Linked DNA regions of Homo sapiens: region 2 is linked to region 1. Evidence: promoter capture Hi-C in human tissues and cell types (Jung and others, 2019). All regions are on one chromosome and are shown on one strand. Each heading gives the region's core, a stretch centred on a gene start or on the middle of the fragment in contact. The rest is flanking DNA. Distances are from core to core; before and after follow the strand shown.

Region 1 (5,359 bases), core at 2,828-5,327:
GCCAGCCCCTCCCATTGAGAGGGCCCAACTCAGTATGAAGCCTAAAGGAGGTCCCCAAAACTGATCAAAAATCACTTCAGTTCCCTCTTAACCTTTACACATCAGAGGGTCTTGATGACAGGATGAAGGGGCAAGCCTCCTCTGCAGGAACCAGAAAGCGCAGTCATAAAAGCTGTGTACGAAACCTCATGCAACCAAGGAAGGGGGACAGTCAGCTGCAGCATAAGAGCAGTGGGGTCGAGGGGGGTGCCCATCTCTGCTCAACAGCCTTCTCACTGACAAGGCTCTTCAACAAGGTGTGCCTTATTACTGTGGGCAACAGAATCAGTAAAGCTTCAAGGAAAAGGAGTCACTGTTTAGGGCCCACACCAAAAGACAGACCCAAAAGGTGGCTAGGGTGTGCAGAAAAGACCCAGATCCCAGTCCCACCCTCAAAAGCTCTGTGGCCTTAGCAAGGCCCCTAACCTCTCTGACCCTCAGGCTCTGCATGTAAAATGAAGCTCATGAAGCCCAGTGCCCAAAGAGCTGGCAAGCAGAAGCAAGACTAGAAGCAGGTCTAGACAAAGCTGTGCAGTCCTTGTGCTCTGCTTCCCACCCACCACCCCTCCGAGGTAAAAACTTGGCCTGTTCAGCTCATAACCTAGCACCTAGACAGGGTGCCTCTTCTTACCCAGCTGCTTTGTGTTGATACTGAAGTCCACACAGGTAACTGCATCTCGGTGGCCCTTAAAATGCCTTTCCAGCGAGGGGTCCTCCTGAGAGAGAGCCAGGGTCAAATGTGTGAAGCCTGGGTGAGGAAGGGGCTTCCCCAGGGCCAGCACTCTTCCTACAACAGCCGGGGGAGTAGGGTTAAAAATGCTCAAGGCATGATCTTATATAAAGAAAATCCTAAGGAATCCACTTAGGATTAGTTTTTACTAGGAATAGTTTTTACTATTTGAATTAATACATCAACTGTGGAAATGCTTCAACAAAAACAAAAAACAAATGAGTTCAGCAAAGTTGCAAGATACAAAATCAAGACACAAAAATCAATTGTCTTTCTGTACACTAGCAATGAATAATCCAAAAAATAAAACTATTTATGATACATAAAAAAAATAGCAATATTTTAAATTAGCCGGGCATGGTGGCAGGCGCCTATAATCCCAGTTACTCAGGAGGCTGACGCAGGAGAATGGTGTGAACCCAGGAGGCGGAGCTTGCAGTGAGCAGAGATTGTGCCACTGCACTCCAGCCTGGGTGACAGAGCGAGACTCCGTCTCAAAAAAAAAAAAAAAAAAAGGAATAATTTAACAAAAGAAGTGCAGGACTTGTACAGTAAAGACGACAAAACATCACTAAGAGAAATGAAAGAAGACTTAAAAAATGGAAAGACATTCCACATTCATGAACAGGAAGACTTACTATTGTTAAGATACAATACTACGATACTCCTCAGATTGATCTACCGATTCCACATAATTCCTATCAAAATCCCAGGTGTCTTTTTTGCAGAAACTGACAAGCTGCTCCCAAGATTCACATGAAAATGCAAGACACCCAGAAAAAAAAAAAAATCTTTAAAAACAAACAAACAAACGAACAAACAAAAAACACAGATACTATAGAAAGTAATTTGGCAGTTCCTCAAAAAGTTAAACATAGGTCAGGTGAAGTGGCTCACACCTGTAATCCCCACATTTTGGGAGGCTGAGGCAGGAGGATCACTTTAAGCCAGGGGTTCAAGACCAACCTGGGCAACACAGCAAGACCCTGACCCTACAAAAAAATTAAAGAATTAGCCACACGTAGTGGCTCATGCCTGTATTCTCAGCTACTCAGGAGGGTGAGGTGGGAGGACTGCTTGAGCACAGGAGTTCAAGGTTGCAGTGAGCTGTGATCACATCACTGCACTCCAGCCTGGGCAACAGAGCAAGACCCTGACTAAAAAAAAGTAGTTAGCCGGGCACAGTGGCTCACGCCTGTAATCCCAGCACTTTAGGAGGCCAAGGCGGGCAGATTACCTGAGGTCAAGAGTTCAAGATCAGCCTGGCCAACATGGTGAAAACCCCTCTCTACTAAAAATACAAAAATTAGCTAGGCGTGGTGGTGGGCGCCTATAGTCCCAGCTATTTGGGAGGCTAAGGCAGGAGAATCGCTTGAACCCAGGAGGAGGAGGTTGTAGTGAGCCGAGATTGCACCAGTGCACTCCAGCCTGGACGACAGAGTGAGACTCCTAATCAAAAAATAAATAAATAAAATAAATATAAATAAATAAAATAAAAAATAAAGTAGTTAAACGTGGTTAGCAAATGACCCAGCAATTCTAGGTAAATACCCCAAAGAGTTGAAAACATGGTTTACACAAAAACTTGTACACAAATGTTCAGAGCAGCATTTTCCTTAATAGCCAACAAGTGATTGAACCCAAATGATCCATCAACACATGACTGAATAAACCAAATGTAGCATATTCATACAACAGAATATTATTCAGCCATAAAACCGACTGAAGTGCTGATGCTTGCTGCAACATGGATGAACCTTGAAAACATGCTAAGTGAAAGAAGTCAAACACCAAAGGCCACATTTTGTCTGATTCCATTCATATGAAAAGTTCAGAATAGTCAAATCTATAGAGACAGAAAGTATTAATATATTAGTTTGCCAAGGGTTGGGAGAAAATGGGGAAAGAGAAGAAATGGTATGACTGTTATTGAGTATGGAGTTTCTTTTTGGGATGATGAAAATATTCTGGAATTAGTGATTACAGTTGCACAACACTGTGAATGTACTAAAAACTACTGAAATGTACACTTTAAAAGGTGAATTCTGTGGTGTATGAATAACTTAATAAAGTTAAAACACCAGAGAGAATACTCCGGAGACTCTCTCCATCCAATAGCAGCTTGTGTCTTAACACTTGAAGGGTTATAATTCAGCCATCCAAACATCTCCCCCTACTCTAAGTATCAGAAACCTCAAAGAAGCATTTTGGGTGCTCCAGGAAGCCCAAAGGCTCCTCCTGGGAAAGGATGTCCTTGGGGCACAGCAAAGCCACTGCCACCCTACAGAGCAGTAACCAGAACAAAGGCCCTATGGCCTTGTGCCCAGCTCCACCCCTAACGCACCTGTCAGAGTCTCCTTTCAACAACAGAGGGAGGAGCAGCTGGGGGAGGGTCCCCAACAGAGCCTTCTGCTCTCACCTAAGCTTCTTGAAAGAACATGCGTAAGAGAGTGTCCGCCCCTAGGCTCAGTGGGCAGAGGCAAGTTCAGGTCCACCCCTGACCAGTAGGTCCCATGGTATCTCTCAACACCGCCTCCCCTCTGTAGTTCCCTGCATGTGGGCCTCATCTCCCTCAACAGTGGTTTATACATGAGGGGACAGGAAGGGAGGTAGAGTACCAGATTAGGAGTCAAAAGGTCTGTATCCTAGCCTGGAATCTCCGTCCATGTCCTCAAGTGCCTCAGGGCATCACAGGCTACCACCCAGCCTCCCTGACTCTCCAATCAGCCAGAGGGCCTTGCCCGTTCAAAGGAATCTCTCGAAATGAGGACTTCTGGAGGAATGTGAACTCAGAGAGGGCGGCTCCGCCCCGCTCACACTGCAGGCCCGGGCATCCCAGCGTCCTGCTGTACCTACCTGCTGGAGCAGGGTGTACCCTCAACAAGACCCCACGCAGCCACCCACTGCTAAGGACGTGGAGAATGGCTAGAGAGGCCCGATACCGGCCCCAGGTCACACATGAGTCGGGACTTGGTCGTGTGTCCCTCGCTAGGATGCAAACTATGGAGGCAGAGGCCTGTTTGTTCGCTCCAGAAACCCAGCGCAGGGCCTGGCACGCAGGAGGCGCTCAGAAAGTGCCCGACCCAGCGCCCCCTGCGCAGACAGTAAACTGGACCTGAAGAGGACCACCCTGGAACCTGGCGCCCCGCCCGCCCCTCGCAGCCATCGCTCTGGCCATTAGGCGCCCAGTGTCCCAGCGGGGAGACTGAGGCCTGGGGAGTTGCTCTCGGCTGGGCTTACCGCGCAGGGCGCAGCCATGGCGGGGCTGGCGGCGCCGAAGGCAGCTGCGGTGGCCGTTGCGGCCCGTTCAGTTTCCGCGCCCCCAACGGCCACCAATAGCAACGCGGGCCGCGTCGGCACGCCCCGCCCACCGCAATTAAAGGAGAAGCGCCTCAGCTTTTTGCCCGACGACTGGAAGCAGAGCTGTATGACCGGCGGCCGGCGCCACGGTCTCCGTGCCCAGTTCCCCAAGCCCAGACAACCCACAGACAGCGCAGCCAAAAGCCTCTGTCCGCCGCCACTCGTTCCGCCTGAGAAATTAAAAGACCCAGGATGAAGGGTTCACCCCACCAGCCCGTCGTCCGGCTACTCTAACGGCGAGCGCAGCCTCCTGGGAAATGCAGTTCCAAGCCGCCCACGCCCCTATGTCTGGAGGAAGGTGGAGCTACACTTCCCAACATGAGATTGCACCATTGCATTCCAGCCTGGGCAACAAGAGGGCGGGCCGGGTTTTACCACCCGAAGCGACGGCCTTAAGGATCCCGGAAGCGGAGGACACGTGGGTTGCTGTAACCAGATTGCGTTAAAGCACCCGCGCGCGCCGGCGCAGCCAGATTTTCCCCGCAGGAACCTATTGAGAGCTGAGTATTCGCCCCTCGGGAACTCTCAGTGGTTCGCCGTCCGAACGTTCTTAAGACAAGTGTCGATTTAAAATAACATGAGTTACTCGGAATCACAATCATGGAGTGGAGAGATCAAGGTTCGATTCTCAGTTCTCGCCCTGATTGGCTGTGTGATCTCAGGAAAAACGCCTCTGCTCTGTGCCCCGGTTTCCCCATTTGTAACACGAGGGAGTGTGGTGCAGCCCGGCCCTGTCAGGATCCTTAAGGCCTCAGAAGCTGTTAGAAACCCAGTCTTTAAAAGAAGGAGAGGCCGGGCTCAGTGGCTCACGCCTGTAATCTCAGCACTTTGCCACTTTGGGAGGCCGAGGTGGGTGGATCACCTGAGGTCAGGAGTATGAGACCAGCCTGGCCAACATGGTGAAACCCCATGTCTACTAAAAATACAAAAATTAGCCGGGCGTGGTGGCACGCGCCTGTAAACCCAGCTACTCGGGAGGCTGAGGGAGGAGAATTGTTCGAACTCCGGAGGCAGAGATTGCAGTGAGCCTAGATGTTGCCGCTGCACTCCAGCCTGGGCAACAGAGGGAGACTCCGTCTCAAAAAATATATATATATATAAAATAAAATTTGAAGGCCACCAGCAACCATCTGAATAGACTCCCTGCTTGGCCAGGGCACTCAAATTTAACCTGAAAGAGTGGTTCAGGCCATGATGGGAAGTGGGGGTTGGACATGCCTCATTATACCC
Region 2 (5,499 bases), core at 2,791-5,290, 1.4 Mb before region 1:
AAAGCAGCTTGGTTTTACTTGTGATTCAAGTTGTTGTTGAAATGACTTTACAGCAGTTGTGAGTTTCATATATAAGTATTTTTTAAGTTTCATTCATTAAAAATATCAAAATTGCAGCAAAAGCTAGTTTCCAAAACCATTTAGTATTTGATAATAGTGGTTGAGGGCAGTTCTCATTCAGAAAAATTTGAGTTTAAGCTTGTAAGCTCAAAAAATTGCAACAACGTGATCACTGCTAATCATCTTACTCTGTACTTGAGCAAGTCATTATATTCAGCTTCAGTTTCTCACAGAGGTTCACATAAGTGAAGATGGTTAAGACCATGTGAGCGAATGAAGTTCATTATTGACTAATGGTTGTAGAGTCAAATAATTTTTGTAGAGTACTTGTTGATGAATAATACCATAGGTTTTAAACATCTTGCATTTTTGTAAGCTTTGTAAATTTGCCAAACTGAACCTTTTTCTGCTCCATGTATAGTATCACCACCATTAGTTGTAACACATCTTAGCAGATACCACTTCAGGTTACAATGAATTAGTGTCTCAACTTGTTCAGTCACTTTGGACTTGCAAGTGACTTTTTGAGTATAACTGAACAGTATCAGTAATATCTGTTGATGTAAAAGAGAACCATTTGAATTATTTTGCCTTTTTATAAAATATACAATACATTGGTTTTTAGTATATTCAGAAGGTTGTGCAACCATCATCATCTAATTTCAGGACATTTTCATCTCCCAGGAAAGAAACTCTGTGCCCAATAGCAATCAATTCTTATTCCCTTCTCCAGAAAATAGATTAGTGAATCCATTTTCTGTGTCCATGTATTTGCCTATACTGGACATTTCATATAAATGGAATCATATAATATATACTCTTTTGTGTATGGCTTCTTTTACTTAGCATAGGATTTCAAGGTGCATCTGTGTTATAGCATGTATCAGTATTTTATTCTTTTTCTAGACTAATAATATTCCACTGTATAGATAAGAATTCTGCTGAGGGGCAGAAGTAGGTTTAAGGCTGAGGGAGAGACCAAGGCAAGTTTTAGAACGGTAGTGAGAGTTTATTAAAAAGTTTTAGAGCACAAGTGAAAGGAAGCACAGTATACTTGGAAGAGGGCCAAGTGAGATCCAAATGCCCCATTCAGCCCTGGACTTGAGGTTTTATTTGCTGGCATGGTTCTGGGGTTTCTGTTTCCCCTCCCTTGATTTTTTACCTTGGGGTGGGCTGTCTGCATGTGCAGTGGCCTGCCAGCACTTGGGAGGGCCACATGCACAGTGTGTTTATGGAAGTTGTACACATGCTAATTTGGGGACGTTTTTCCCTTACCAATAGAGTGTTTCCAGAGGATGGTCATATACTGGTTAAACTCTGCCATTTTGCCTCATAATGTGCATGCTTGAGTCTGCTCGCCCAATTCCTGCGATCTTATTGGGAAGCTGCTGATTACCATCTCCAGGTGTTTTCTATGGTTGCCTGACATTCTGGGAGCGGGGAGCGGGGGCATGTAGGGGGGTTCTCCTGCCCTGCTTGTCTGTCTACCTACTCTAACAGATATATCACATTTTGTTTATCAAAACATACATTTTTTTTGTTTTGATTAGTTCAAAACACACACTGTTTTGAACATGTGTGTACAGGTTTTTATGAGAGCATATGTTTTTAGTTCTCTTCAGCATATACCTAGGAGTGGAAATGCTAGATCATATAGTAATTATATGCTTAACTTTTTGAGTAACCAAGCTATTTTTCACAGGAGCTGCACCATTTTGCATTTTCACCAATAATGCATCCTCTCTTACACTTTTGTTGTCAGTCTTTTTGATTCTAGCACATGCAGACTGGTATCTTGTGGTTTTGATTAGCATTTCACCAATTACTAATGATGTGGAGCATTTTTTCATGTGCCTGTTGGCCATTTGTATATCTTCTTTGGGAGAAATATCTATTCACATCCTTTCCCTATTTAAAAATTGTGTTATCTTTTTTCTTTTTTGAGACAGGATCTCAGTCTGTCACCCAGGCTGGATCATGGCTCACTGCAGCCTCACTCTCCCAGGCTCAAGCAGTCCTCCCGTCTCAGCCTTCCAAGTAACTGGGACTGCAGGTACACCTCACCACACCTGGCTAATTTTTCATAGAGACAGGGTTTTGCCATATTGCTCAGGCTGATCTTGAACTCCTGGGCTCAAGCAATCCATCTGCCTTGGCTTCACAAAGTGTTGGAATTACAGGCGTGAGCCACTGTGCCCAGTCAGATTGTCGTCTTTTTTTTTTTTTTTTTTTTTTTCTGAGACTGAGTTTTGCTGTCTCACCCAGGCTGGAGTGCAATGGTGTGATCTCGGCTCACTGCAGCTTCCGCCTCCTGGGTTCAAGCGATTTCTCCTGCCTCAGCCTCCTAAGTAGCTGGGATTACAGGCGCGCATCACCATGCCTGGCTAATTTTTGTATTTTTAGTAGAGGCAGGATTTCACCATGTTGGCCCGGCTGGTCTTGAACTCCTGGTCTCAAGTGATCCACCTGCCTGGGCCTCCCAAAGTGCTGCGATTACAGGCGTGAGCCACTGCGCCTGGCTCAGATTGTCTTTTTATTGTTGTGTTGTAAAAGTTCTTTATATAGTCTAGATACAAGTCCCTTGTAAGATATGTGATATATAGATATTTTCTCCATTTTGTAGGTTGTCTTTTTACTTTCTTGGTGGTCTTTGTAGTGCAAAAGTTTTAAATTTTGATGAAATTTAATTTTCTTTTTTATTGCTTATGTTCTTGGTTTCACATCTAAGAAACAGTTGACAAATTCAAGGCCATAAAGATTTACTCCTGTTTAAGAATTCTGTAGTTTAGCTCTTACATTTAGGTTTAAACTTTTTTGAGATAATTTTTGTTTATGATGTGAAGTAAGAATCCAAGTTCATACTTTGCCTGTGGATATCTATTGAAAAGATGATTCTTTCTCCTGTTGAATTGTCTTGGCACCTTTATTGAAAATTAATTGGATGGCTGGGCACGGTGGCTCACGCCTGTAATCCCAGCACTTTGGGAGGCTGAGGCGGGCAGATCACGAGGTCAGGAAATTGAGACCATCCTGGCTAACACGGTGAAACCCCGTCTCTACTAAAAAATACAAAAAAAATTAGCCGGGAGTGGCAGTGTGTGTGTGTAGTCCCAGCTACTCGGGAGGCTGAGGCAGGAGAATGGCATGAACCCGGGAGGTGGAGCTTGCAGTGAGCCGAGATCGCGCCACTGCACTCCAGTCTGGGCGACAGAGCGAGACTCTGTCTCAAAAAAAAAAAAAAAAAAAGAAAAAAAAAAAGAAAATTAATTGGACATAAATTTGAAGGTTATCCCCCCCGCCCCAGAGTCTTAGTTCTTTTCCTTTGACATAATTCTATCCTTATGCCACTACCACACTATCTTCACAATTGTAATTTTATAGTAAGTTTTGAAATTGAGAAGTGTGGATCCTTTATATTTTGTCCTCATTTTCAAGATTGTTTTGGATATTCTGGATCTCTGTATCTCTGTTTTTTTATTGTGCTTATATATTACGACAGTAAAAAAAAGATATATAATTAAATTTATAGTTTTAACCATTTGTAAGTGTACAGTTCTGTCTATGGCCATACCACCCTGAACGCGCCGATCTCGTCTGAAAGTGTACAGTTCTGCAGCATCAAGTACATACATACTGTTGTTAAATAACCATCTCCACCATCTATATCTAGAACTTTTTCATCTTCCTCAGCTTGAACTCTGTACCCATTAAAGACTGACTCTTCATTCCACACTTTCCCAGCCCCCGGCAACCAAAATTCTACTTTTTTCTTTATGAATTTGAGCACTCCGGGAACAATGTATTACAGATACTCCTTCTCTTTTGATGAGGGTACATCCAAAAGCTTATTGTAAGATTGAAAAATCATGAATTGAACCATCATAAGTTGAGGATCATCTATAGTGGAATCATATAAAATTTTCCTTTTGTGACTAGCTTATTTTACTTAGTGTAGTACTTTCAAGGTTTATCCATGTTGTAGCATGTCAAGATTTTGTTACTTTGTAAGGCTGAATAATATTCCATTGTAGGCACGTACCATATTTTATCTGTTCATCTATCAGTGGACACTTGGATTACTTTCACCTTTTCACTATTGTATATAATCGTGCTAGAACACGGGTATACAAATATCTGTCCTTGTCCCCTGCCTTTGGATATATACGCAGAAGTGGAATGGCTGGATCATATAATTCTGTTTAATATCAAATTAAAATTAAATTTGTTAAATGAAATTAGATATTTAATTAACTAAATTAAGTATTTAATTTAAATTCTTTTTAAATTAAAATAATTATATTTGATTATTCTGTTTAATTTTTTTAGGAATTGCTATACTGTTTTCCACAGCGGCTGCACCATTTTACATCCCCACCAGCAATGCAAAAAGGTTCTAATTTCTCCACACCTTTAATATTTGTTCTTTTTTATTTTTTCGTAATAGCCATCCAAATGGGTATGAAGTGGCATCTCATTGTGCTTTGATTTGCATTTCCCTAATGATTAGGGATGTTGAACATCTTTTTATGTGCCTGTTGAGCATCTGTGTATCTTCTTTGCAAAAATGCCTACTCAAGTCTTTTGCCTATTTTAAGAATCAATTTGGGTTGGGTGTTTTGGCCCACACCTGTAATCCCAGCACTTTGGGAAGCCAAGGCAGGAGGACTGCTTGAGCCCAGGAGTTCAATACCAGCCTGGGTGACAAGTAAGACCCCGTCTCTAAAAAAAAAAAAAAAAAAAATGGAAAAAATTAGCTGGGCATGGTGGCACGTGCCTGTAGTTCCAACTACAGGAAGGCTTGGGAGGCTGAGGTGGGAGTATTGCCTGAGCCCAGGAGTTCAAGGCTACAATAAGCTGTAATCATGCCACTGCACTCCAGCCTGGGTGACCGAGTGAGATATTATTAAAAAAAAAAAAAAAAATCTGTTTGTTTGTTGCTGATCTGTAGGAGTTCTTTATCCTGTCAGTTAATTCCTTATCAGATATATGATTTAAAAATATTTTTTCCCATTCTGTGGATTGTTGTTGATGTAGCCTTTGATGCATACAAGTTTTAAATTTTGATGAAGGCGGACTCTTTTTTTTTTTTCCTGTACTTTTGGTCATGAAGAAATCATTTCCAAACCCAGTGTCATGAAGCTTTTCCCTTATGTTTTCTTCTAAGAGTTTTACAGTTATAGCTTTTACTTTTAAGTCTTTGAGCCATTTTTAGTTCATTTTTGTATATGCTGTGAGATAAGGGTCCATCCAACTTTATTCTTTTGCATGTGGTATCCAGTTTTCCACCACCTCTGGTTGAAAAGACAGTCAGTTCTTTGTTGAATGATCCTGGCACTCTTGTCAAAAATCAAGTGATCATTTATGTGAGGGTTTGTTTCTAAGATCACAACTGATTTTTATATGCAGATGGTTCTTGACTTAGGATGGTTTGTCTTATGG

What was found. Contacts are between HindIII fragments. The study calls those that stand out against the background at their distance.
Region 2: a contact is called between a fragment that was not itself captured here and the fragment with the promoter of POC1A in region 1, in 1 of the 25 tissues and cell types used here (dorsolateral prefrontal cortex).

What each region holds. Positions count from the first base shown.
Region 1 is chr3:52,150,346-52,155,704 of GRCh38, forward strand. POC1A (POC1 centriolar protein A) reads right to left here and starts at 4,078. Exons shown (of 11, transcript NM_015426.5): 1 at 4,010-4,078; 2 at 671-755. The coding sequence starts at 4,027. RefSeq lists enhancers at 3,471-4,448, 4,449-5,359. The HindIII fragment of the contact is 12,174 bases long and covers 1,764-5,359 here.
Region 2 is chr3:50,754,891-50,760,389 of GRCh38, forward strand. The region is part of intron 1 of DOCK3 (dedicator of cytokinesis 3); the gene reads left to right. Among named protein-coding and RNA genes, the nearest start is that of MIR4787, 83 kb to the left of the region's middle. The HindIII fragment of the contact is 3,740 bases long and covers 2,171-5,499 here.